Regions from separate parts of the Homo sapiens genome. Here region 2 is linked to region 1. Evidence: promoter capture Hi-C in human tissues and cell types (Jung and others, 2019). All regions are on one chromosome and are shown on one strand. The core of a region is centred on a gene start or on the middle of the fragment in contact, and the rest is flanking DNA. Distances in the headings are between cores, read along the strand shown. Region 1 holds the start of ASB7 (ankyrin repeat and SOCS box containing 7). Region 2 overlaps CHSY1 (chondroitin sulfate synthase 1).

The links. Contacts are between HindIII fragments. The study calls those that stand out against the background at their distance.
Region 2: a contact is called between a fragment that was not itself captured here and the fragment with the promoter of ASB7 in region 1, in 1 of the 25 tissues and cell types used here (mesenchymal stem cells).

What each region holds. Positions count from the first base shown.
Region 1 is chr15:100,601,109-100,604,009 of GRCh38, forward strand. It overlaps ASB7 (ankyrin repeat and SOCS box containing 7), which reads left to right and starts at 1,481. Exons shown (of 6, transcript NM_198243.3): 1 at 1,481-1,938; 2 at 2,107-2,205. It overlaps LINS1 (lines homolog 1), which reads right to left and starts at 1,076. Exons shown (of 7, transcript NM_001040616.3): 1 at 1,013-1,076. RefSeq lists an enhancer at 994-1,333 and silencers at 1,504-1,763, 2,214-2,263. The HindIII fragment of the contact is 8,332 bases long and covers 1-2,901 here.
Region 2 is chr15:101,238,428-101,241,328 of GRCh38, forward strand. The region is part of intron 1 of CHSY1 (chondroitin sulfate synthase 1); the gene reads right to left. Among named protein-coding and RNA genes, the nearest start is that of CHSY1, 12 kb to the right of the region's middle. RefSeq lists an enhancer at 1,417-1,466. The HindIII fragment of the contact is 3,239 bases long and covers 1-2,901 here.

The DNA of each region.
Region 1 (2,901 bases), core at 231-2,730:
TCCCTAGATCTTGGCATGGCTGGCTCTTTGTCATTCAGATCCCTGCTCAAATGTCACTTCCTCAGAGACCTTTCCTATCTGTCTTAGTCCGTTTCCTGTTGCTTATAAAATAATTCCTAAAACTCGGTAATTTATAAAGAAAAGTAATTTATTGTCTAGTTTTGGAGGCTGGGAAGTCTAAGACTGACGGACCACGAGACAGCACCGCAAAGTATCACGTGGCCAGGGGGCTGAGCAGGCTCACGAGTTGTCAAGTCTCTCCTTAAAAAGCCACCAGTTCTACCTCCGTGATAACCCATTAATCCATGAATAGATCAATCCACTCGTGAAGACAGAACCCTCACGGTCCAACCACCTCTTAAAGACTCTACCTCTCAGTACTGCCACATTGGGGATTAAATTTCAACATGAGTTTTGAAGGGGACAGATATTCACACCATAGCACTACCTATCTAATACAGCCCATCACGTCCTGGTCAAAATCGATTCCACCATTCTGCTTGATTTTCCTCATATAACCCATCCCTATCTGATAATTTTGTGTTTGTTTCCCCGAAATCACTATCTTGTTCACTGTTGTCTCCCCAGGGACTAGAACAGTGGCCAGTAAACACTTGCTAATGAATAAAGTGCTTAACAAACGTGTCTTGATCAGTCTATCTCGCGTTTTCCCCACGACCCCTCTCCATTCATTCACAGGAACCCGCCAACGTTGCTATCCTTTCAGGAAGGTCCTTGGATCGTCATCGCTATCCCAAAGAGAGTCCGTTCTCCCACTTCAGGCGAGGCATTGCCAGCCTGGAAGCTAACGGGGTCTCAAGGACCGACAGCCGCGCCAAGACCGGGCACTTGCGTCTGACAAGCGCTGAACAGGGGCGGAGAAACAAGGCACCCCTCTACTCGCTTCCTGGAGCCTGCCGCCCTCCCAACCTTAAGCCCTGAACCAGGCTCTCATTTGGCCGCACTCGTGCCTCCCCTGCTGCCAGCACGGCGGCCGGTCCCGGTTACCTGCCTGGGATCTGGCTCAGGCGAACTCTCTTCACACCGCCATTTGAGGGAACACAAATGCCCGCTCTGGGCCACCGTAGTTCACAGAAAGTACAAGCTGGCACCTCCTCCCGCATGCGCAGAGACCGCCTTCGGCGAATAGTGTCTCTTAGCAACGGCTTTGAGTCCCTCCGCCAGGGGCGGAGCCTCGGAAGCCACCACGGGGAAGCTGTAAGGGGAAGTGAGTGAGACCAATCGGAGACGAATCTCTGCCCCGTTCGGCACGCCTCCCTTAACTGTCGCGAATGCAAAGGCAACTTTACGGCAGGCAGAGGGTGGGGGCTGCCGGGGGTAAGGAGGAGAGAAGGAAGCAACCAACCAACCAAGTCGTCCCTACTCCCTCCACCCCCACCCATCCCGGACCTGGTTTACGGCTCCAGGCTCAGGCTCCACTGCGGGCGCTGATTGGTTGTTGAAGGCTTGGTCCCATCCCAGTGACCCCAAAGTGCTGAAGGGAGGGGGCGGGGGTGGCCCAGTGCAAAGTGCATCCCGAAAGCCCCCTGTCCGGAGACCCCACGGCTGGCACTTCGGGCCCCGTATGACCTGGGACCTCGCCGTCCCGAGACCTCCTGGGTCCCTCCGTAGCTGGAAGCCTCCGGCCCGGAGCGCGGCAGCCCCCTGCTCCGAGCCCTGGACCGGGACTGCCCCCCCACCCGAGCCAGGACTTCCTCCCTGCCTCCCTGCACCTCTGCCCCAAGGCTGCCCGGCGGCCGGGATCGCCACCTCCTGCCTTCTCGGCTGTTCGGATGTTCGCCGGGCTGGGGCCGTGAGGCACCGAGGAGGATCAGGAACACCAGGGTCCGGCCCTGCCTGGGGTATTTCTTCAATGGAGAAGTTGGTGAGTGTAGAGGAGGCTGAAAGGAGGAAGAGAAGCAGCAGCTGAGGAGACAGGTAAAGTCCTTTACTTCCCCCGAGGGGAAGAGTGCTGGCTGGGAGGGTAGGAGGGAGGAAAATCTCTGCTTTTTCTTGCCTGCCCTTGCCACTCTCCAGCCCCTTTCCTGAGCTCCCCCCTCCCCACCTCTGAGACACTACACCACTCACTGGTTTCTGTTTTTCTAGGTTTGAGCTGGCTGAAGAAGACGCGAAAGCAGGAAGAGGTCTGCCCACCTATCAGAGAAGCAGAAGGCACAGTGCCTCTGACCAGCATCGTCTGTAAAGGTAATGAGCCAGCCCTCCCCTCCCCCGTTGTTTATTCCTGGCCCCTACCTCATTAAGCAGTGGTTTATTTTCAGGGTGGTTGCCTGGGAATGCAACCTTTCCTACCCCCCCCACCCCCACCCCCAGTTTCCCAGGAAAAACAAAAACATTACCCGTGCCTGATACTTAACATTTTATAACTTCTCTACCCAGGACAGTATTTTCCCACTTTCTTTCTGTACAGTGTGTTTCTGTGTTTTTCATTATCTTTTGGTACACTGTGCCATTTACTCTGCTCTGAGGCTTTGAGACCTTTTTGTAGCTACCCTCCCTTCCTTACTCTCATAGGAATTCCTCAATTCCTTGTTAATTGCTTGTTAATTCTGAATGACTTTCCTTTTTAATTAAACCACAATTTACTGTTTTCCCCCTTACTCTTTCCTATCACCTTTCTTCTACCTGCATCAGAAAAATCTTTTGAGTTATCTAACTGACAACGATTTGGTAGAGAAAGGTAAATTATTGGCCTGAGATTTATGAGTTTCAGAAAATAGTTTGATTTTATTTCCTACTAGAAAGCCAACCTGTGTACCTTAAGAGTGTGAATGGTATGAAGACAACATTATTACCCTGAAGCACTTAGGCATAATTAACTCTTTGGGCTTTCTGTGTGTTTGTGTGTGACAAATGTGGATGGGCTTTGAAACTTATAAAGAT
Region 2 (2,901 bases), core at 251-2,750, 640 kb after region 1:
AAATTCAATGGAATTCGACTTTCTGCCAACACGCCTCTCAAAAAGTGCAAGGATTAAATATATACATTTTTTCATCACATTTAGGATGTTAACTGGAAGATGCACCATTGTTTTATCTATCAACAAATTTAAAAAATACTGCCAATCATAATCCCATGACGCCGGTAACTATAAAATGCATCCTAATTTCTGAGATGTCAAAATCACAGAATGGATATAAGATGGTGTTGTTAATGTTTTCCCTTAGTGCCTATGGATTTAAAATGGACCTGTATTCTTACGCCACTTAAATAACTCATTAACAAAGAACAAGAATAACAACAAAAAACAAATTCAGCCCAGACATTCATTCCACGGTTATTAACAGATACTGTTCTAGGTACTGCACTTCATTTTCACAAAGGATATGCTCCTGAAGAAAAAGGATGTAGAATAAACGTAGAGATGTGGAAATTAATTTAAAGAAAAACCAATCCCACCTACAAAGGGACAAGTCCTTTTGCAAATGCGACAATGTGTGAATGTGTGACAAGCTATACAGAGTCTTCTGATGCGGTGACATATGGAGGGGAGATAACTTCTCAGAACTCCTCCAGCCTTGGGAAGTTAGTAAGGACAAAATTATAGTGCAATGACCCCCCATTCAAGTCGAGGAGCCCCTGATAATGCTCTCTTTATAGAGAAATGTTTTTCATTTGGCAGTCGCAACAATTCTTTGAAAATGTAAATAATTTCAGTGCTTGGCACATAATAGAGGTCACTAAATGTGTGCACTGAATACTGCCCACTCATGTACAATAAGTAACTTAATGGTGCCACACGTGTTTGCAAAAGGTCAGAAATCATTTCTATCTTGTACTTTGAGAAATTTTCAACCTAGGAAGCCATGAAAATACTAAAACACTGTAATGTTATTTGGGAGATGGGGTGGGCGAGACAATTCCTGCCTTCAAAGAACAACCAACTAAGGAGGCGAATCTACAGCATCACCGCAAGAGCTGGCTCTGGAATCAGGCCATGGGGGCGAGAACTCCAGCTCCACTTGGGACAAGTTACTCTGTGCCTCAGTTTCCTTATCTGTAAACGGGGGTTGTTGTGAGGGTTAAATGAGCTCTCTGTAAACAGCTTAGAAGCCTGCCTGGCACTATGTAAGTATGACTTATTATTAAGGAAGACAAGAGTTTGCAAATCAAATAAGGTAGTGAAAGAACAGGAAAGTGTGGGCTCCACGTGGACTAGTCAGTCTCAGGAGCACACGGAGCAAAGGTAATGTGGAAAATGCTTCTTAAAACCTGAGCCTCAAGCTATGTACTGAAATCCTCTTTTACTATCAACTTCAGACAATGTTACAGGAAAGAGGCCTAACTGCAAATTTCACGAGCATTTCGCGGTAGAGCACGAGAAACTTCCCTACTAGACTGAGGATGAAGCTTCATTATAGTTTGGCCCTGCTTCCCGTGTACCCCACCAGGAAGAACACAGTGAAAGAGGCCCCAGCAGTACAACCAGCACAGACGCAATTAATGTCTCAACTATGACTGAAATGGTGTAATTTGCCCAAGAAGAGAAACCAATTAATTTTAAAAACAGTCTAACCTCAACCCTACAGTTTTATGGTAACTCCACCCAATTATTATCTGTTCCTTTTTAGGTAACTCAGGGAAAAACCTCATGTTGTCCTTTTCTGTTCTAAATGACTGGTGGTTGGTTTGAGGGAAATCTCTCAATGTCAAGTCTTTGTAAACCCTCCAATCTTAAGAAATTATAATCTTTTCAATTAGGGTCCTTTAACTTGAAGAGCTCCACAAAGTGAACGAGTTCAGGAACATAAATCGTGATTCACCACCATCCTGAGGAGGAGGAGGGGATGCATTAATAATTTCAAATAATTGAAGGGAATGCTCCCAAAGAAGCAAGCTGTCCCCTCTTCTGCAATATCAACAAGTCCAGTTCCTTCATTTTCATAAGCAAACGTCAGCTTTGCCATCAACACATTTGTTACCGGGAGCAAAGAACTCTCACTTAATTGAAATGACAAAACGTTTGCAGAGGCCTTGCCAGAAAAAGCTCATTTTCAATGAACTGATGTCCAACCCTTGCTCAAGCCCAGATAAGACAGCTGAAACTTGAGAGTGCCAAGTGAATCCTCCATCACTCTAGGTTTCTAAACGCTATTCCTACACTGAGTCAAATCACAGTTAAGTAATTCAGCTGGACCAGTATTAGCTTAGCTAAGGAATGCCTTTGCTGGTTAGGACTTAACCCATTTATGTCAGAGGTTGCGATTTTTTTGTGTGGAAAAAAAATCAGACTTTGGTGATAACCTTGAGCGGGATATAAATAACTCCCACAAGCTTAGCGTTCCAATAATGGAACTCTAGGCATAAATGGGTTAATATCATAGTCTCCATTTCCATTCAGTGTTGTTTTAAGAAAAACTACATAAAATACACTTCTGTACAAAACTGCATCTATAGCATGACTCTTGTCCTAGGTAAATATTCATAATATACGGGTAAGCTTAAAAAGCAGGCAACAGTATATACTTGTGATGTGGCTTACCAAGGGAACAAAAGTACATATACAAAAATAAAATAACGTACAACTCCACCCCCAAAGTATTCACCGTGGTTATTTTTGGATGGGAAAACCAGAAAGGATTTAATAGTCTTTTTTTTTGTTTTCTGAGACGGAGTCTGGCCCTGTCGCCCAGGCTGGAGTGCAACAGCGTGATTTCACTGCAACCTCCGTCTCCCAGGTTCAAACGATTCTCCTGCCTCAGCCTCCCGAGTAGCTGGGATTACAGGCACCTGCCACCACGCCCAGCTAATTTTTGTACTTATAGTTGAGACAGGGTTTCACCATGTTGGTCAGGCTGGTCTCGAACTCCTGACCTTGTGA